6 separate regions of the Homo sapiens genome follow, and regions 1, 2, 3, 5 and 6 are each linked to region 4. The links are contacts of gene promoters, found by promoter capture Hi-C in blood cells and fetal thymus (Javierre and others, 2016). All regions are on one chromosome and are shown on one strand. The core of a region is centred on a gene start or on the middle of the fragment in contact, and the rest is flanking DNA. Distances in the headings are between cores, read along the strand shown. Region 1 overlaps UBR3 (ubiquitin protein ligase E3 component n-recognin 3). Region 2 overlaps GAD1 (glutamate decarboxylase 1). Region 3 overlaps ERICH2 (glutamate rich 2). Region 4 holds the start of MYO3B-AS1 (MYO3B antisense RNA 1). Region 5 holds the start of ERICH2-DT (ERICH2 divergent transcript). Region 6 holds the start of LINC01124 (long intergenic non-protein coding RNA 1124).

What was found. Contacts are between HindIII fragments. The CHiCAGO score rates a contact against its expected background, and 5 or more counts as called.
Region 1: a fragment that was not itself captured here is called in contact with the fragment with the promoter of MYO3B-AS1 in region 4 in 2 of 17 cell types (endothelial precursors and megakaryocytes); the score reaches 5.2 in endothelial precursors.
Region 2: a fragment that was not itself captured here is called in contact with the fragment with the promoter of MYO3B-AS1 in region 4 in 15 of 17 cell types (M1 macrophages, M2 macrophages, M0 macrophages and 12 more); the score reaches 12.1 in M1 macrophages.
Region 3: a fragment that was not itself captured here is called in contact with the fragment with the promoter of MYO3B-AS1 in region 4 in 16 of 17 cell types (M2 macrophages, M1 macrophages, total CD4 T cells and 13 more); the score reaches 16.1 in M2 macrophages.
Region 5: a contact is called between a fragment that was not itself captured here and the fragment with the promoter of MYO3B-AS1 in region 4, in 5 of 17 cell types (fetal thymus, naive CD4 T cells, total CD8 T cells and 2 more). The highest score is 6.9, in fetal thymus.
Region 6: the fragment with the promoter of LINC01124 here is called in contact with the fragment with the promoter of MYO3B-AS1 in region 4 in 2 of 17 cell types (endothelial precursors and erythroblasts); the score reaches 5.4 in endothelial precursors.

Annotation. Positions count from the first base shown.
Region 1 is chr2:169,928,563-169,932,091 of GRCh38, forward strand. UBR3 (ubiquitin protein ligase E3 component n-recognin 3) reads left to right here. Exons shown (of 39, transcript NM_172070.4): 18 at 165-306. Among named protein-coding and RNA genes, the nearest start is that of UBR3, 100 kb to the left of the region's middle. The HindIII fragment of the contact is 2,048 bases long and covers 405-2,452 here.
Region 2 is chr2:170,845,750-170,848,962 of GRCh38, forward strand. It overlaps GAD1 (glutamate decarboxylase 1), which reads left to right. Exons shown (of 17, transcript NM_000817.3): 9 at 1-36; 10 at 260-314; 11 at 1,927-2,043. Among named protein-coding and RNA genes, the nearest start is that of GAD1-AS1, 29 kb to the left of the region's middle. The HindIII fragment of the contact is 845 bases long and covers 1,268-2,112 here.
Region 3 is chr2:170,791,556-170,794,815 of GRCh38, forward strand. ERICH2 (glutamate rich 2) reads left to right here. Exons shown (of 10, transcript NM_001290030.2): 8 at 1,308-1,365. Among named protein-coding and RNA genes, the nearest start is that of ERICH2-DT, 22 kb to the left of the region's middle. The HindIII fragment of the contact is 5,215 bases long and covers 1-3,260 here.
Region 4 is chr2:170,349,149-170,352,659 of GRCh38, forward strand. MYO3B-AS1 (MYO3B antisense RNA 1) reads right to left here and starts at 1,795. Exons shown (of 4, transcript NR_110576.1): 1 at 1,731-1,795. All of the region lies in intron 8 of MYO3B (myosin IIIB), which reads left to right. The HindIII fragment of the contact is 2,320 bases long and covers 1,268-3,511 here.
Region 5 is chr2:170,770,673-170,773,832 of GRCh38, forward strand. ERICH2 (glutamate rich 2) reads left to right here. Exons shown (of 10, transcript NM_001290030.2): 1 at 1-515. The coding sequence starts at 10. It overlaps ERICH2-DT (ERICH2 divergent transcript), which reads right to left and starts at 94. Exons shown (of 6, transcript NR_110185.1): 1 at 30-94. RefSeq lists silencers at 284-343, 664-803. The HindIII fragment of the contact is 3,287 bases long and covers 1-2,894 here.
Region 6 is chr2:170,713,104-170,716,440 of GRCh38, forward strand. It overlaps LINC01124 (long intergenic non-protein coding RNA 1124), which reads right to left and starts at 1,464. Exons shown (of 1, transcript NR_027433.1): 1 at 1-1,464. SP5 (Sp5 transcription factor) reads left to right here and starts at 2,234. Exons shown (of 2, transcript NM_001003845.3): 1 at 2,234-2,460; 2 at 3,156-3,337. The coding sequence starts at 2,410. All of the region lies in intron 5 of ERICH2-DT (ERICH2 divergent transcript), which reads right to left. RefSeq lists a silencer at 1,551-1,600 and enhancers at 1,818-2,607, 2,608-3,337. The HindIII fragment of the contact is 7,273 bases long and covers 1-3,337 here.

The DNA.
Region 1 (3,529 bases), core at 179-2,678, 420 kb before region 4:
TTATTATTGATCTGTTGTATTATATAGCCCTCTTGTGGCCAGCTTTGTATATTACAACCAATTACTATTTGTCTACTTCAGCAAAATGAGAAACTAGAGTACCTTGGAAAGGCTATAAATCTGGCTTTTTGTTACTAATATTTTTTTCTTGACATATATATCATATTCCAGAAAATCCTAATCCCAAAAGTGGCATTATTCCAGGCAGTTACAGCTTTGAATCAGTTTTATCAGCTGTAGCTGATTTTAAGGCTCCTGTTTTTGAACCTGGAGGTTCTATGCAACAAGGCATGTATACTCCCAAAGGTATGTTTATATACATAAATGGACTCTTTCAAATATCAGTTCTTGAATGGTGAATTCTTCTGTGTATTAAAAGAAAATGTTTACCTTTTATTCGTTCAAGCTTTGGTTTTCTTTTCTCCATTTTGTTATAAATGTATGTCTTTATTGGTAAACAGTGATACTGCTTTCAATTACTTAGAAATCTATAGCTTTATGTTACACTAAGACTTCTTAGATGACTCTAAACTATAAAGGAAATTTATATTTGAACTCTAATTCATTTTTATAAGTGATCATAACCATAAATGAACCAGAAACTATAAAACAAAATGTATATTAAAAAATATTTTGAATGTATTTACTCTCCAAATTTGATTTTGAAACAGCAAAAGAATCCTCACGACCCAAATTTTAACTTGAAATAGTTCAAATTAAAGTCTGTATAGGCCGGGTGTGGTGGCTTATGCCTGTAATCCCAGCACTTTGGGAGGCCGAGGTGGCTGGATCACCTGAGGTCAGGAGTTCGAGACCATCCTGGCCAACATGATGAAACCCGTCTCTATTAAAAATGCAAAAAAATTAGTCAGGCATGGTGGCAGGTGCCTGTAATCCCAGCTACTCGGGAGGCTGAGGCAGGAGAATCACTTGAACCCAGGAGGTGGAGGTTATAGTGAGACCCTATCGTGGCCACTGCACTCCAGCCTAGGCAACAAGAGTGAAACTCCATCTCAAAAAAAAAAAGTCCACATAGAATGCTGATAGCACTTACTTACATTTTGAACCTATGTTAAATGCACAGAACGTTTTCCTTAAGTGGATGATTGGTTTTGGAAGGTTTCTCCCGCATAGATTCATAGTTGACATCCTTGACAGCAGCCAGAAGTAAGTGAGGTTTTGATTTACACAGTCTTTTTTTGTTTGACTTTCATATTTTCACTTCTCTAAGTGAAAATTTTGAAGGAAGTAGCAGTTACGTGCTTCTTGACTCCCTCAACACGTTGTCTAAATGAAAAACCAATGCCCATTTTGAAGTTGTAAATAATATACACTGTACTGTGTGTGTTTGGCAAAGCAGAACAGAAAAGCCTTATTTGGGATTTTTCAGGGAGTTCACAAGGAGCAAGAAAATCCAGTCTCTGGTTGGAAAGTATTCCATTAAAAGAAAAGCACAGTATTTTTTTAGTGTAGAGGATATTTTGTGTGTAAAATTAGATGAATTTGGGAGTGGAGTGGTGCTGTGGTGTAGTGCAGTGCTTATAAAAGTGTGATGTGACGATTACATCTCTGTCAGACTCACTTGCGCTCCTCATTAAGAATGCAGGCCCCTGTGTCTCACCTCCTATCTGCTATCATCAGAATCTCTGTGGGTGAAATCTGGGAATCTGCTTTTTAAAACAAGCTGTTTAGATGACTGTTCTGAACAATGCTGAGATGGAATACTGGGCATTCGGAGATTAGAGCAAGGAAATTGAGTGTCATATTTAAATACCATATGAATTATATTTGCTAGTTGTGTGGTTTAGGAAATTAGTTGTTTTTTTTTTTGTTATTTTTTTGGAGACAGAGCCTCACTTTGTCGCTCAGGCTGGAGTGCAGTGGCGCCATCATAGCTCACTGCACCCTTGACCTACTGGGCTCAAGTGGTCCTGCCACCTCAGCTTCCCCAGTAGCTGGGACCATAGACACCCACCACCATGCTGGCTAATTTTCATGTGTTTTGTAGAGACAGGGCCTTGCTGTGTTGCCCAGGCTGGTCTCGACTGTTGGGCTTAAGCAATCCTCCTGCCTCAGCCTCCTAAAGTGCTGGGATTGCAGGTGTGAACCGCCATGCCTAGCCAGTTTTTTTATCTTTGGATTTGGCTTCTTATCTGTAAAATAAGTTTTTAAACTTTTAAAAGTGGTTGAAACAAGCCTCTGGTTTCGGGGACTAAGCCTTAAGTGAATTTGTCATATTAATATAAAACCAACAAAAGCTGGCTTACTCCTGTTAAAGTGGGTGTGGGTAGTGAACCTAGCTTCTTCTCTGTCCTGCTATCTACTTGCTCCTAAAGTGGCCCCTGTTATACATCTGTGGTAATTCAGCTCCATGGAACACTGTTTGAAGCCCACTGGACTAATTAATCACTGAAGTTTTCTTCCATTGCTAAGGTTGTGCAATTCTGATAAAAGCTTTGGCATGTTAATTATGCAAAATAATAGACTTTAAAGAGAAGGACGATCAAGGCCGGGCGCAGTGGCTCACGCCTGTAATCCCAGCACTTTGGGAGGCCAAGGTGGGTGGATCACGAGGTCAGGAGATTGAGACCATCCTGGCTAACATGGTGAAACCCTGTCTCTACTAAAAATACAAAAAATTAGCCGGGCTTGGTGGCGGGCACCTGTAGTCCCAGCAACTCAGGAGGCTGAGGCAGGAGAATGGCGTGAACCTGGGAGGCGGAGCTTGCAGTGAGCCGAGATCGCGCCACTGTACTCCAGCCTGGGTGACAGAGCGAGAATCTGTCTTAAAAAAAAAAAAAAAAAAAAAAAGGACGATAAATGATTCTAGAAATACTAATAAAGATCTTTGTGAAGGACTGTCTTCAGAATTTTAAGTCATACTTCTGATACTTTAAGATGAATAGCTTGTTACATGAAACTAGGGACAGTGGTTAACAATGGTTAACAGTGTCTTGTGCTAGAAGGTTGTAATTATAGTGGATGGTTAGGGAGAAGCTTAAGCTTCTTACCATGTTTTCAAATGTTAAGAATTTTGCTAGAGAGAATGAGAGAAAAAAATCTATTAAGGAGATACTCTTAAGGCGGTGGTTTCTAAAATTATTATCTCAGTTTATCCTTTAGATTTTTGCCACATCTAAATAGCCTCTCTACTGAAATATACTTAGTATTTCACTATTTTTTAAAATGAGTTAACTTAAAAAAAACCTTGCCTCTTCCTAAGCGTGATTATTAGTGAGGTGTCATGAATTTTATTTGCAAGTTACAATTTTCTAATATACATTATACACATTAAAAATAATTACATAATTATTAAAATGAAAAGCTTTATATACTTAATACTTAAAATCATCTTGTGAACCATCAGTTGTACACATTCCACACACAAGATAGTGGTTCCTAATTATGCAGAAGGTAAGAAGACAAATTATCAGTTTTAGCAAAGGAGCAGAAAATCTTTTATAAACAAAAAAGACTTATAAAGTGGGTCTCTTCAAAATCAATAGCTCATTAATTTTTTTTTTTTTTT
Region 2 (3,213 bases), core at 440-2,939, 500 kb after region 4:
AACTGACAATGTGATTTTGATAAAGTGCAATGAAAGGTAGGCAGGGGAGGGTGAATATTAGGTTCTTGATGTATTAAATGTGTTCATCTGTTAAATTTGTTTTATTGTGCTTAAGGACTGGCTCAGTACATTGTGCCAAGCTGCTAATGGTCTGTTGAAAATATCCGATTAAATTGCTTTTTGCTGCTGCTAAAGTTTTTTTCATGTGCAATCTCATTGACTCTTCATTTTAATTTCCCTCCTTTTCCAATAATTATAGGGGGAAAATAATTCCAGCTGATTTTGAGGCAAAAATTCTTGAAGCCAAACAGAAGGTATGTACTCCGTGGTGCATCTGAACTCCAGTTTTAAAATACCTTCTTTCTGTCCTAGACAAAAACAGTCCTTGATAATATGAGACAATTTTCTTGTGCTTCTAAAATTCTATTCTTCAAATTTGCTTATTTCCAACTAGTAAAATAATTTGGTTTTAAAGCTGTGTCTACACAATATCAGGGTTTTTTTAAAAAATGAAAAATTTGGTCATTAAACTATTTGTCCTATCTTCATTGTGCCAAGTGATTGGTTTGATGTTCTTCAATAAATCAAATCCCTGAGCATCATGAAGATATAGCCTAATTGAACTTTTTATTTACTACTTGTTGGGTATTATCTCATTTTAACAGATGCCATTTTAGCTTAGGATTCTGTTTAGCAAAGTGCTTCCATGCCCTGGCAGATGGCCCATGGTACTTGGCACATCCAGCCTCAACAAACTCTATTAAACAAAAAAACTCACAGAACAGATGTATCCACAAGTCAGTGCCAGGTAGCTGTCAGGCCACTTACCAACACATGGTTGTTTCAGTTACATTCTTATACCTCCTTCTCTAATTGTAGTTATTTGCTGGGGTCTTGGCACAGGAAGTGGATCTAAGTGTTGTAAAGACTGAGCAAGGAGCAGAGGTGGAGCTGAGCTTCACAAAAGCCTAAGAGGCAGGGCATGGGGGCTCGCACCTGTAATCCCAGCACTTTGGGAGGCTGAGGCAGGAGGATCCCTTGAGCCCAGGAATTCAAGACCAGCCTGGGCAACATAGGGTAACCCACATCTCTGTAAAAAATTTTAAAAAATAGCCAGGTGTGGTGGTGCACGCCTATAGTCCCAGCCACTCAGGTGAGGTAGGAGGATTACTTGAGTTGGAGAGGTAGAGGCTGAAGTGAGCCATGATCGTGCCAATGCACTCCAGCCTAGGTGACAGAGCAAGAACCTGTCTCAGAAAAAAAGAAAAGCTTAAGATTCACAGATTTCCCCAAACTTGTCTTAGATCTATTACTCTACTCCTTCGTTTATTTTTTGTTTATGTCAACATTTAACCACGTCCACTGTTAGTGAGTGTATCAGCTTTCACAGTGTATAGACCTTTTTTAAATAATTGAACCCCACAATGTTTCAGTATAATTATTATATCAATACACTTAAAACAACACAGCCTCTTAAAAGAATGATGCACAGGTGATATTCAGAACTATCTGACCATCATTCCAAACACTTATTATTACTCTTTCCTGCTTTATTTTTTGCCATAGAAATTATTGCTATTAAACATACTGTATATTTTGCTTATTTAATTTAGCTTATTATCTGTCACCTGCCACTAAAATGTAAACTCCGCAATGACAGAATTCTTTATCTGTTGTGCTCACTGCTGAGTCCCTAGCATCTATGGCAGGGCCTGGCACATAAAAGGCAATCAAAAAATGTTTGTTGAATAAATGAATGAATGAGTGAATGAGCCAACAAAACACTACTAGACATAGTATCTGGTAATACATAAGTTTTGCCATTTACTGTTAGAAATAAATGTTACACAATTCTTCTTCCTGTGAAAATCAGCAAATGAGAAAGGTTAAAAATACTCATCAGCCTATATCTGTCTTACCTTGTAGGGATATGTTCCCTTTTATGTCAATGCAACTGCTGGCACGACTGTTTATGGAGCTTTTGATCCGATACAAGAGATTGCAGATATATGTGAGAAATATAACCTTTGGTTGCATGTCGATGTAAGTGCTATATAACTCAGGCCAGTCCATGTGGGGGGTGGAGGCACCTCTTTTTTATGACTTGCCTCAAGCTTCTCCCCACGCCCCAGCCAGCCCTCTCTCCACACCACATTAGTTCCAGTTCTTGTCTGGACCCTAGCCAGCCATTCACAACTGGTACACACCACAGACCTGGAACATCCTCTGGGACTCATCCACTTCCTTACTAGTCGATTGCTGTCTTCTGTGGTTCATCCTAGAATATGGTCTCATTGCCTTCCCAGGTAGCTTTGTTGGGACAAGTGGCTACAGAATAAAATATAACTGATTTCAGAGGGAAAAAATAGAAGACACAACATACAGAAAGTGGCCATGAATGTGAACCCTCAGCTACCTGCCTTCAGTCCAGCCGTCTATGACACGTCTCTTAAAAAGGTTATATCTGGCTGGGCGCGGTGGCTCACGCTTGTAATGCCAGCACTTTGGGCGGCCAAGGCAGGTGGATCACCTGAGGTCAGGAGTTTGAGACCAGCCTTGCCAACATGGTGAAACCCCGTCTCTACTAAAAATACAAAAATTAGCTGGGTGTGGTGGCATGTGCCTATAATCCCAGCTACTCTGGAGGCTGAGACAGGAGAATCACTTGAACCTAGGGATGGAGGTTGCAGTGAGCTGGGATCACGCCACATCACTCCAGCCTGGGCAAAAGAGCAAAACTCTGTCTCAAAAAAAAAAAAAAAAGAAAAAAGAAAAAGAATATCTGCTACATTTAGGAAAAATAAGGCAGTATACGGAAGGCATTATCAACTAAGAGACTTAATCCCAAATCTTCCCAGGAACACAAAAGATGCATTTTCACATGTGTGACTGGGTGTATTTTTTTTTTTCTTTCTCTCTGCCCATTTTCTTAGGGATTTAACTTCTCACAATTGGCCAATAGGATCATCTGCCTTGCTACTGAACTAATGACTAACAAAGGCTGTGTCACGTGGCATCCCAACTATTCAGTAAACATGCATCATGGTACCCACAAAAATGTCTTGTTGTTACATAAGTTGTTGTGAGACCTCCAAACCCAGCAGGAACTGCTGCTTTTTGAGTTTTTCAGGAGCTGTTAGAATTCTACTCTGGGAAGAACCAGACAGCAGGCCTCAGTTTTTTGAGCAGCTTCCAGAGCCACCCGGAGGGGGA
Region 3 (3,260 bases), core at 698-3,197, 440 kb after region 4:
GGCAGGCGCCTGTAGTCCCAGCTACTACAGAGGCTGAGGCAGGAGAATGGCGTGAACCCGGGAGGCAGAGCTTGCAGTGAGCCGAGATCGCGCCACTGCGCTCCAGCCTGGGCGACAGAGCGAGACTCCGTCTCAAAAATAAATAAATAAATAAAATAAAATAAAAATAAAATAAAATAAATAATTAGTATGTGAATGAGAATTTTGATGAAATTAATGACTTATAGAAAAATCTCCGGAAGAGTTATATTTACATTAGAAATAAAATTTTTTTTAACCCATGGGAGAAATTGAGAAAACTGGTAGAGAACTACTTCTGAAAACAGTGTCTGGGTATTTATCAAATATCTGGAAGTATATGAGAAGGGTCTCTTTCATATTACTATATGCCTCTGTCTCTTACAGAATAAAACTCATATACCTGCATGTGGTTCAGAATGTGTCACACACAAGCAAGAACAATCATCAAAGTATAGGGGATTTTTTTGTGCATTTTTTTAATGGAAGCAGTCTAAATAGCTATAATAGAAGATTAGTTTAGTAAATTGTAGCCTAAGTAAGTAAAAAATACGTAAGAATATTTCATGCCATGAGGAGAAAATGATCACAATCCATGGTTTATTTTTTTTAAGTTACTAAATAATCTTAAATGTTGTAAATGCATATGTGTTAATTTATGGAAAATAATACTTGAAAGAATATACATGAAGATGTTAAAAATAAATGTGTTTATTTTTCATAGATGGTAGAAATTAAGTGCTTCTTAATTGGGGACAGAATGTGTGTATTTAGCTTTTAAATTTCCTACATAAAAAAAGATGTATTATTTTGTAACAAGAAAAGTATAATAAAAATAATAAAAACAAAACTGGATGATATAAGAGCAATGCTGGAAAATATCAAATGTACATTTTGTAAATCTGCATTTTTTTCAACTGTCGTATAATTATGGACTAAGTTACAAATGAAACCTGTATCTGAACCAAAGGAATATTAAAATAAAGTGATTAATGTCTTCACTATCTGTGCCAGTTGAATCAACCTACATATTCTCAAATTGTTCAGTAGTACATACACAGTATGGCTGCAGGAAAGCAGAGGTATCATCCTTACCCCATGTGGCTTTGCCATCAGAGGTACTTCAATTTCCTTGATTAATTGATTCACTATTCATTATAGACTGACTCCTGGAAAAACATGTGGAAGTGTTAAAAGCAAAATAACTAATGATTAATGGAAGATTTTCTAGGGAGTTTAGAGTTGACAACATTTAAATTCACTTATCTGAAGAATTTAATGTTTTCCAGTTTCTGAGAGCAGAAATGGCCCGAGAGTACCAGCTGGCAAAAAAATTATGTCAGATGAGTAAGTACAAAATACTTTCATATTTTCTAATCTTCTCTTTGTTTTCAAAAATGAATTCCGTAATATATAAAATGGCTTGATTATCATAGGTCTAGTGAATTCCCTGATAGTGTCTCAGTGATTCCTTGATAATAAATTAGGTTGATTGGTATAAGTACTAATTTAGATCTCTAGAGTACATTTTAGTGGAATAAATTAATGTAAACTAGCATCGGCTAATTACCATCACTGGAAAATAAGTCAAAAATTTTACCCTCATGATGATGGGTTAGTAACTTTATACCTTTAGTTTCAAAGAAGTGTCAGGTGACACAGCAGTCAAACCTTAACTGAGCATGCATTTATCCCACAAACATTGAGTGCCTACACATGCCAGCCACTGTTCCAGGCACTGGAAATACAATAGTCAGTCAGACAGATGACAATCCCACATTTGTGTCTAGTGTTAGAAAGACAATAAACAGATAGTGTGTCATGAATGATAGGTGCCATGGTGAGAAATAAAGTAGGGAAGAAGGAATAGAAGGTACTGGAGGAAGGCAAAGCAGTTTTAAATAGGATGGCCCAGGAAGGCCTCACTGAAAGACTTGAGGAATAGCCACATGAATATCTGGAGGCAGAGTGTGCCAGGGAGGATGAATGGCAAATGTGCTATGACAGGAGTGTGCCTGAAAGGAATAGTGAGGAGGACAGTGTAACTGGAGCAGAATGAGCATGGAGAAGTGTGATAGGAAATGAAGTCAGAGGCGTCATAGGCAAGGGGTTGTCAGATTGCATAGGCTCTGTTCTTTCCCTGAGGTGGGAAAACCACTGGAGGCTTTTGAGTAGAGCAATGATATGATCTACCTTATTTTTCTTTTTATCTTTGGTTTTTAATGGTTTGACTTGATGTTCAAAATAGTTGTGGGTTTTTTGTTGCAGTTGTACTGTTCAGGGCATTTGCTGAGTTTCTTAACTCTGTGGGTTGATGTTTCTATCAGCTTTGAAAATTTTTTGGCCATTACCTTTTCAAATACCACTTCTAGTCTATCCTCTCTCTTCTCTTCCTGGGTCTCCAATTACACACAAATTAGACTTTTTTTTCATGATGTCCCATGTGTATCTTATACTCAGCTCTAGTGTGTTTTGTTTTCCTTCCTTTCTTTCTTTCTTTCCTTCCTTCCTTCCTTCTCTTTCCTTTCTTTCTTTTTTTTTTTTTTTTTTTTTGACAGGTTCTTGCTCTGTCACCGAGGCTAGAGTACAGTGGTGCAATCTCCGCTCACTGCAACCTCTGCCTCCTGAGTTCAAGTGATTCTTATGCTTCAGCCTCATAAGCAGCTGGGATTACAGGCTTGTGCCACCATGCCTGGCTAATTTTTGTATTTTTAGTAGAGATGGGGGTTTTACCATGTTGGCCAGGCTGGTCTCGAACTCTTGGCCTCAAGTGATTCTCCTGCCTCAGCCTCCCAAAGTGCTGGGATTACAGGGTGAGCCATAGCACCTGGCTCTCTTTCTTTTATTTCTATGTGTCAGTTTTAATATTTTCTATCTACCTGTTTTTGGTTTCTTTATTCTATCTTCTGCTGTATCCAATATGCTGTTAAAACTATTTAGTGAGTCCAAGGTTGTCTTTTCCAATTTTAGAATTTCCATTTAATGATCTGGAAAGATTCTGGTTCTTTGTTGAACTCTATCATCTTTTCAACTATTTTATGCATCTTTTTCTTCTAACATATTAGTGATAATACGTTAAAAAAGAGAAAATAGCAACTCTACAATTAAACTTGTTGACAACAAGACTCAAAATATTAAGCAGTGTTAAACTTAAATTCATTCTTACAGTAAAGTCCTTAAGTGAAAATGTAGCACAAGGATTGAGTGACGGTCTGCCCTGGCTTGCCTCACAAGAGTCCCAA
Region 4 (3,511 bases), core at 545-3,044:
ATTCTCTCCTCCAAACTCCCTGCACATTCTAGAAAAATTGAACAAGTGATGCTTCCCCTGACTTCCCCAGGAGGACTCAGAGGCCCCTTCCTTCATGCTTTTATGTCAGCGTTGTGCCTTTTACAGAACTTTATAATAATGGGGAGAGAGGGAGCATGTCAAGCCATCCTGGAATTATTTGTTTCTACGTCTGTCTCCCCACTCAAACTGTAAATTCCTTGAGAGCAGAGAATGTATCTTTACTGCTTCATATCCCCAATACCTAGCACAGTTCCTAGAACATGGCAGGAACTCAGTAAATATCCATTCCTTTTGAAGAACCACGAATTCTTTAGAGGAAGTGATACTCTTAAAATTATGCACCTCATGGCCGGGTGTGGTGGCTCATGCCTATAATCTCAGCACTTTGGGAGGCCGAGGTGGGTGGATCACTTGAGGTCAGGAGTTTGAGACCAGCCTGGCCAACATGGTGAAACCCTGTCTTTACTAAAAATGCAAAAATTAGCCGGGCATGGTAGTGGGCACCTGTAATCCCAGCTACTTGGGAGGCTGAGGCAGGAGATCACTGGAATCTGGGAGGTGGATGTTGCAGTGAGCTGAGATTGCACCACTGCACTCCAGCCTGAGCGATGGAATGAGACCCTGTCTCAAAAAAAAAAAAAAAAGAAAGAAAGAAAAAAATTATGCACCTCATATAATGGACCTAGATAGAAGTTGGATGTTAGAACTCATGATCTTTGGACAGTCTCTCCAAACGACAAACATAATGATAAGGAAGAGAATAAGGGGTGGCAAAAGTGGTCAGATACACCTTCCTCTCTCAATATACACACAGTATCCCAGAACACAACTGAACATTTTTTTTTCCTTTGAGATAGTGTCTTGCTCTGTTGCCCAGGCTGGATTGCAGTGGCGCGATCTCGGCTCATTGCAATCTCAACCTCCCAGGGTGAAGCAATCCTCTTCCCTCAGCCTCCCAAGTAGCTGGGATTACAGGCACGTGCACACCCAGCTAATTTTCTGTATGTTTAGTAGAGACTGGGTTTTGCCATGTTGCCCAGGCTGATCTCCAACTTGTGGGCTCAAGTGATCTGCCCGCCTCGACCTCCCAAAAACCGAAATTTTAACTGTAAGAAGAAACATGATAGGATTGTTAAATTGATAGCTACGTGGTTAGCTGTGGATTCTTTTTTGATTGCCTTAAATACATGAAAAGAATGTCAGAATGAATCCTTCATGGCAATCTCAGTGGTTATTCCTCTCCAAAAGCTTCTGCCCATTCCTTTTCATCTCTGCCTTCCCTTATTTCTCACCACCAGCTCCTTTATCACGTGGTTTAGAATTCCACAGAAAGATTGAAGAGAAGCCACTTCTGAACTCTGGATTATAAGAAACATCACCATTTGAAGGCTGCCTTAGGGAACTATGCAGAGATGATGGGTAAAAATCGAGATGTGGAAAAGTTCAAGGCCTGTGAATGCAACTTTACTTCCTCACTGTAAAATAAAATTAGGTTAAAATCAAGGTGTTGGCAGGGGGAAAAAAGATTAGGGGCACGTCTCACAGATGTTAATTTTGGCCACGTACCTTAATGTCTTAATACATTAATATGATACATACATTAATAGCTTAATAGCTTCACACTAATAGATCTTACTAAAGAAAAATGATTTAGGATGGTAGTAAGCAGAAGAAATGATTGGATAAATTTGAATTTGAAGGATTTTTGCCTTTAGATGTTTCCGTGGAAGATATTTTCTGTAAAGGTGATGCCTTAGGTTTATACTTTTCCAAACACAGGATATTGCTAGGCCACATATATAAAGAAAAGGCCAAAAACATATTAAGAAGGAAGGAAGGGAGAAAAGAAAAAAGGGAGGAAGGAAGAAGGAAGGCAGGAAGGAAGGGAAGGCAGGGAGGGAGGAAGGCAGGAAGGAAGGAAGTTAGTTATATTCAGAATGTTCATTGTGATGGATGAGAATGGAATGCTCATGAAGTGCTCAGCTGGGCTGAAGTCACAGGTCCGCAGGTATCAAGAGCAGTGGTGACTCCTGTGAGTAAAAAGACTAACAGGGCTCCAAACAAGATAGGATTCAGAGTTGAGACTCCTACTTGAAGCCAGTAAATGAGGTGGTTCATTTAGGCTGATAAAAAGCGTCTGGGAAAAAGAATGGGGTAGGGGAGAGGTTATGTGATCCTGTGCTCTAACTGTAGCAATTTCTTCCACATATTCTCCATCGTCTGGGGTGATGCTGACCATCACCCAGGACTATGACTTTTAGCCACCTTCTGGCTGAGGATGGTAGAAGGATATATAAGCAGCCAGGCCTGTGGCTGCCACAGTCATAGGCTCTTCCATATGCCCAATAAGACCATGGGACAGCAGCACAAAATGCCATTCTACAACCTGGCTCTGGGCTAGAGACCCAGAGAGCCAAGCAGACATAACCATAACATTACTAGAATAGGAGGGTGGGCAAAGGGGAAGTGAGAGGGAGAGAGAAAACAAAATCCTCTTCCTCCTCACCCTTTCAGTGAGCCTGCCAACTGAAATTTCAGAACACCTGAATAAACCTAAAGCTGAGGAAGACAACCCACCAAAACAACAAATGAAGCATAAATTCGTTTGAAATGAAACTAAATTCATGGAATAGTCTGAAGGATTAATGTAGATAACTACTAACTGTAAGAAGGAAAACAATTTGGGATAAAATACGTAAAAACTAACTCTAATCATACAGTTGGGGCAGGGACAGCATCCAGTGTGTGATTTAGGCATGCACAAGTTGTTTTTCTTTGTTTGGTTTTTTGTTGTTGTTTTTGAGATGGAGTCTCGCTCCGTCGCCCAGGCTAGAGTGCAGTGGCATGATCTCGGCTCACTGCAACCTCCGCCTCCCAGGTTCAAGCGATCCTCTTGCCTCAGCCTCCTGAGTAGCTGGGGTTGCAGGTGCATGCCACAACACCTGGCTGATTTTTGTATTTTTAGTAGAGACGGGGTTTCACCGTGTTGGCCAGACTGGTCTCGAACTCCTGACCTCAGGTGACCCGCCCTCCTTGGTCTCCCAAAATGCTGAGATTACAGGTGTGAGCCACCGTGCCCGGCCTAGGCACGCATAGGTTTTTGTACTCAGAAAGGGGATAGAACTACAGGAAAATTGACAGTTAAGCAAACATGTTAAACTAATTTGTAGTTAAGCAAATATGTTAAAACTATAGAAAAACAATGTCTAGTTTCTAAACCAAAAGAAGAAAGGGTCTACAGAAAATTTAATCAATCTAACAGAAGACAGGAAATGAGGAAAAAAAGCATTGGAGGAAAAGGTTGGTAAAAAGAGATTTCTATCTATATGACCATGCTTTTGAATTATCAGGCAGTCAGTTTTTCCCAAGATTTCCAGTACATAAGCAGTGGTGTACTGGTAAATGTTTAAACTGGCTGGTTGCGGATAGGGGTGGGAGTGGGGCTGATTTTCAGTGTTTACTCGTTTTCATGGTGTAAATATTCCCACCA
Region 5 (3,160 bases), core at 1-2,500, 420 kb after region 4:
GAATCAGGTATGGACACCGACATTCCAACCTTCTTTCCTTCTTCGGCGCTCCTGAAGGTAACCGGTGCGCGTGCGCACGTCAATCCGAGGGTGTGTGCGCCCAGTTTCCGGCGCCGCGGGACACCCACAACCGCGGGGCTGTCCCTCAGCTCGGCCGCCCGCCCCGCCCCGCCCCCCCGGACCCGCCTCCCAGCCCCGCCCCGGGCCCTCCTCGCCGCGCCCGCTCCGTCCCGCGCCCTCCACCGCCCTACGGCCTGGGCCCGCCTCCACCCTGCCTCTCCGTGGTTCCCCGGGCTGCCCCTGCCCCCGCCCCCGCCCCCGCCACCTCCCCCGCCGTCGCCCAATTCCCCCAGCCCCCACCCTCGGCTGCTGCCCGAGCTTCCTCCACGCGCCGTGCAGTCTCCACGGCGACGCTGCGTTCCCGACTCGGAGCCCCCAGCTCCGCGCGAGCAGCTAGCCGGGCTGGCTCTCGGTGTGTGCCCTTCGGATGGTCTGCTGAAGAGGGCCGCCAGCTGGTAAGACACTCCGAGGCAACGACCGGTCTCCCTCTCCCTAGCCCGGTGTGCAGTCTGACCCAGCCCCCACAGCAGACCACCCCCAGACCGGGCGCCCGAGTCTGCGGACCGCTCTACCGCACCTGGTTCTGGCTCTGGGCCCCGGGCCCCGTGGCTGCCAGGGGCCGCCGGGAAGGGAGGATGCGCGCCACTGGGGTGCGCCTGGCTTGCGGCACCCTCCTCCCGCAGTGGTCGGAAGAGGTGAGGAAGCGCCGTTCGTGTCTACACGGGTGTGGAGATAACTGGGCGATTCTGACAGGCTTGTCTACACTACCATTCTTTGACCGGCCGGTGCACACGCACCAACTCCTTCCCCGCAAATAACGAAGATGGCCCAGCCCATCCCAGGGCTTCCCGACCCCCTTCCCTCAGTCCTTGCCCTTGCCCGGAATTCTTTTACTTATTTTTGGAAAATTAGTTAAGACATCACTACTAGCTAGATATAACTTGCTAGCCATACAAATTTCGATGGAATTTGGACAAATCATTTATATTCCCGGGCCTTATTCTCATCTTATGAGATGATGAAATTGACTTGAAACTTCCAAAATGTTGATATTGTTCTTTTGACTACTCAAACTACTCTACACTGAGCCCCTGTGGCATTTAAAGTAACACATGGTATAATGATCAATTTATTGTTTGGCATAGGTGTCTTGGCTGAATCTTATTTTTACCCTAGGAGAACCCCTGGAAGTCGCTTTTTAAAAATCTGAAAAGGACACCGGAAATGTCTTTTAATATGTTTCATTTTTCTAAAAACCAAATACAATGATCCCCAAATCCAACTTATTTTTTAATTTTTATTTTGTTTTTTGTGAATTGAAATAGTTTTGGTTTTTGTAATCTCTGGAGAACAATAATAACAATAACATTTCTCTTTACGTGTTAAGAGTTTTCCAGAGCTGAAATTCCAGCATCTCTAGGTATTTCATTGCACCCACTCCAGAATTCCAGAGCTTTCTACCTACGCTCACCGGTTGAGCCACATCCTCAGTGTTTTCTCCCTTCTTTGCCCCATCCAGTTTCGGCGTTTAGAACTGGCTTCATTTGTGACAGTTCACCTTCAGGACTGGCCTCCCTGAGCTGTAAATATTAACAATAGTATAGGAGGAGGAGTTATAGTAACTGCAGTTCTGGCAGGAGATGAGTGCTACTATTATTATTTATTGGTAGCTAATTATTTTAACCTTTGCAATTTAACTCTATAAGGTAGGTGGTGTTTTTATCCACACTTTACAGTTGAGGAACTGAATCACAGAGAGGTTAAGGAATTTGCTCAAGGTCACACAGTTTACTGGGATTTAAACATAGACAACCTGACTCCAGAGTCTGGAATCCTAGCACTATATTACACTGTAAAGGAAATATATAAAATTTATATTTAGTCAGTTTAAAAAATGAATGTAAGTGATGGATGATCCTTGACACCATTTGTATACACATTTGAAGCTATGCCATGAAATATTGTTCCTGCATCATGTAATGTTTCCCCCACCAAGCTCCCTGAGGATAGAGGATAGTGCTTAATCAGCTCTGTCTCTCCTTCTCACCAGAGTTGCAGGGCTTGAGTGTGTAGCTAGCTAGCTATTTATTCATTCTGTCTTTGCCTATTAGACTACAAGGTAGCTTATAAAAACCAGTAGCACAAAACAGTAAAATAATTGCATAAGTGGGATGAAGAAAAACATGTAATGTCTTCCAATATTACAAGAGAAATCTAAAATAAAAATTTTTTGAAATCTGAATTTTAAATGTTGGTAATTCATTTTATAAAAGGTGTTTTTGTTTTTTTGTTTTGTTTTGTTTTTCCTGAAGTCTGTGGAGTGTGGAGTCCAAATAATACCAACTGGGGAGGTTCAGAATCTTGTGGCCTCTGGTTGCATGACTCCTAAACTACAATTTCTGAATCTCGTGGCTAATTTGTTAATCCTGTAAAGGCAGTCTGGTCCCCAGGCAAGAAGAGGGTTTGCTTTGGGAAAGGGTGGTTATCATCTTTGTTTCAGTGTTAACTGTAAACTGATTTCTTCCCAAAGTTAGTTTAGCCTATACCTAGGAAAGAACAAGGGCAGCTAGGAGGTTAGAAGCAAGATGGCATCAGTTAAGTCAGATCTGTGTCACTGTCATAATTTTCTCACTGTTATAATCTTTGCAAAGGCAATTTCACCTCTGTCCTTCCAGTTCTGCCTCCACTGCCTGCTGACTTCCTTAGGTATCTCCAGTCCTTGAGCCCAAAAGAAAGAATTTGATTGGTCCTGGTAATCACTATTCCTCAGTTTGGGCAGTATGGGAAATTACATTGTAGCCCCTTAAAGGGAAGCATTTGTTATAGTATTTTGAAGCTTGCTCTGTGACATACATATAAGAAGTTAGTACCCGTTTCACCTATAAGATTCTGAACTTCTCAAAGTAGAGTATCTTCATCTTTGTGTCCCCAGAGTTTAGCATAGTTATATGTGACATGTAGTAGGTGCTCATCAAATGTCTGGTATTGTATTATTATTGTCTTTTTTTTTAGAGACAGAGTCCCACTCTCTTGCCCAGGCTGGAGTACAGTGGCACAATCATAGCTCATTGTAACCTCAAGCTCCTGGGCTCAAGCCATC
Region 6 (3,337 bases), core at 214-2,713, 360 kb after region 4:
AAGAAGCTGGAAAGGAAACCAGCGCTAAGGAACCAGATCGCTTCGAGGGTGCAAGCATGTGCAGGCGCGAGTGTGTGCCAAGGGGCTCCCTGGCCTCCGACTTGCATCCAGGGAAGAGCTCCCTCGAGTCTCACGCTTCTCCAAGACTCAAATCCTGGACGGGAGCGTGGGAAGGAGCAGGTTGGCCAGGCCTCGGATGAAACCACTAAGCTCTCTCCCCTTCTCCGCTCCCAGAGCAGCCGACCTCATCTTCAGAAGCCAGATCGGGTCGGCCAAGTTGTGTGGTCGCCGCTCGCGTTTTAGAGGGGACAACTCGTTGGGGGAGAAGGGGGCGTGCGAGTGCAGGATGTGCGAGGGACCCATTGTATTTGGGTCGCAAGCAGCCCACCCGTCTTGAGTACGATATTCTCATTCCGCAGGCGCGCCCTGGGCGTGGGAGAAGGTGGGCCCGGAGGCATCGCATCCCCGACCCCTGATGGAAGTGCGGAGGGCATCCTTATACAGTCCAGATTCCGAGTCCGTTGTAGTTAGGCTAACCTCTGACGCTGCATCGGGAGATAGGTCACCCCGTCCGTCCCGGTCGCAGTGCGGTTCCCGTGAGGAAGACGGGCAGAGAGGCCGGGCGCGAACTGATTAGGGGCTCCCCCACGGCCGGCGGCCTGGAGAGTGGAGACTGTGTCCGACGGGAGGTGGGTGGGGGAGAGGAGTAGGCCGAGCTCCGGCGGCCACTCCGCAGTGCGCTCTCGCGAGCCGGGGCCGCGAGGCCTCCAACGCGGTTCCGCACCCCTAATGCCCCAGGGCGGTGAGCACCCCGCGGTTCCCCGCCCGCCTCTTCCTCCTTCCCCGCCCGCGCGCCCGGGAGAGGCGATCCCCGCGTCCGCAGTGCCGGGGCAGGACGCGCCCTGCGCCCTGGGCCAGGAGGAGGCAGGTGGCCCTCCTCGGCAGGAGGTGAGCCGCCAGGGAGGGATGGGGGTCACCCAAGCCCCTGCAAGCGCGACCCTGCCCAGAGCAAAGCACGCCCCGCGCCTGGTGAGGAACTTTTTCTTTCCAAAGGTGGCAGGAACAAGTCTGTACTGACTTTTCTCCCGCCTTCGGGATCCTCTCTCGTATGATTTGTGGTTTGTGGGACCACAACAACCAGGCTTCCTCGACCGCGCCTTTTTTCCAGTAGCTCCTGGTCTGCCAGGCTTGCGAGAGGGCGCGCTGGCTTGGCGGGGCTCCGGGCGAGAAATCACCAGCAGCGCTGGGGCTTTCGGCCCCCCACAGCCCAGCCCGGGCCTCCTGGGTGGCCTGGGGAGAAGGGGGCGGGACAGCACAGCTTCTTCCCCTCGGGTGGGCATGACGGGTCGCCTTGGGTGTCCTGCCGAGCTCAGCTTTGAGGGTATGCGCGGCGCGGGTGTTTTTCCCAGGTCCACTCTGCAAAAGTTGTGGCCTGAGGAAAACTTCCAGGTCGCCAGCAGGAACGTCACAGGAGAGCCCCGGTCGCTCGTCAGGCGGGCGGCCCTGGAGCGTGCGCGCCACCCAACGCCGCGCTGGGCGGCCGCCCGGCCCCGCCCCAGGTCACAGCCCTGCCCTCGGCCCCACCGCGGCGGGCGGGGGACACGCGGCGGGCCGGGCGCTGTCGGTCCCACGCCCCACCGGGGATCTCGCTTGGGTCCGCTGTGTGCGCGGGCGGGTGCGTGTGCGGCGAGGGTGCAGGGTGTGCAAGTAAATACAGGGGAGAGTTACACTCTTTGCCGTCTCAAAGTCCGGCGCCTGGAAGCCGAAGGCAGATTTTTCCAGAGATAACAAAGACACTTTGTCACTTTGGGCGCTGCGTCGGTGCAAATCTTTAATTGCAAGTGTGTGTGTGTGTGTGTGTGTGTATGTTGGGGGGGGCGGGAAGAGTGTCTCGAGCAACCCAAGCGCGGGTCTCCAGGCGGCAAGGCCCCCTTTGATCAGGAAAATCCAATTATTTGTGTATATACATTTCCCACATAGTGATTACTTCATTAATTGTCCCGCCTTTATCTCCTCCCTTCCCATCCCCCCTAATAATCAGTTCTTTTATCCAGACCAACAAACACACCATAGGAGCTTTGTGGATTCAAAGGATTTGCTTTCGCTTCTGAAAGAGCCGCTATTCTTTGATGATTGGGTAGCGGCAAACTTCAAAGCCATAAATCTTCCCTCTGACTGGCTGGCGGCCCAGCAAAGTCCTTATCAAATTCTTGGAGGTGATCCTGAAGCGCTCAGACCGCGCGCGGGGCGAGCGAGCGGGGCGCGGCGAGGGGCAAGGGCGGGGAGGGCCCCGGCGCTCAGAGCAGGCGCCAGGGAGGCAGGCTGGGCGGCCCTTCGTCCTCGCCTTCGGGTGTCCATGCCTCGGCGGCGGCGTCCCGCTCCGCAGCCAGGGGCCTGCAAGCCGTAGCCATGGCCGCGGTGGCCGTCCTCCGGAACGACTCGCTGCAGGCCTTTCTCCAGGTCAGGGCCGAGCCCGGAGGGGGCGGGAGAAAGGTGGAAAGGGCCGTGTCCGGATCTCTCCTGGTACTCCGTGCACCTTGAACCTCAAAGGGAACCCCGCCGATGGGTGCAGCTGGAGCCAGGCCTAGGGGTGCCCACGCCAACTTCACACCTAATCCGGTGTGGCCTTTGCTGGAGGGACGCGTGGATCCGGGATTGTTCGGAGGTGCCCGGCTGGCCGAGAACAGGACCGGAGCTCACCCTGCTGGGCCCTCCTGCTGATTTCAGCCTGGGGCGGGCCAGGGAGGAGCGCGAAGGCAGTGAGGACAAGAGAGCTTAAAAGATGGGAGGGAGAGCGGCCGGCCGGCGGGGTTGTGGGTGTTTCCCGACTCTTACTGACCACGGAGCCGGGAGGGGCCCGTCGGATGCCTCCCCCTCCCACTTCGCGCCTGCTTCCTCTAAGGCTGGATGGCGTCTCAGTGCACCAAGTAGTTTAGCAAGAAGCGCTCGCGGGCCCCACGTTCAGGTAGCGCAGGCACCAAAAGTTTCCCTCGGCCGGTGGGTGCGTGCGTGGGGTGCGGTGGCGGGGGAGGGACGGCCGGGACGGAGGAGGGGCGGCGGTATAATAGCGGGCGTGGGGGCGGCGGGCTGGCCCGGAGTCCGCGCTTGGAGCTAACCTTTTGTCTCTTCTCCGCCCTCCCTCGCCGCCTATGCAGGACCGCACCCCCAGCGCCTCCCCGGACCTGGGCAAGCACTCGCCCCTGGCATTGCTGGCCGCCACCTGTAGCCGCATCGGCCAGCCGGGCGCGGCGGCGCCCCCGGACTTCCTGCAGGTGCCCTACGACCCCGCGCTGGGCTCACCCTCCAGGCTCTTCCACCCGTGGACCGCCGACATGCC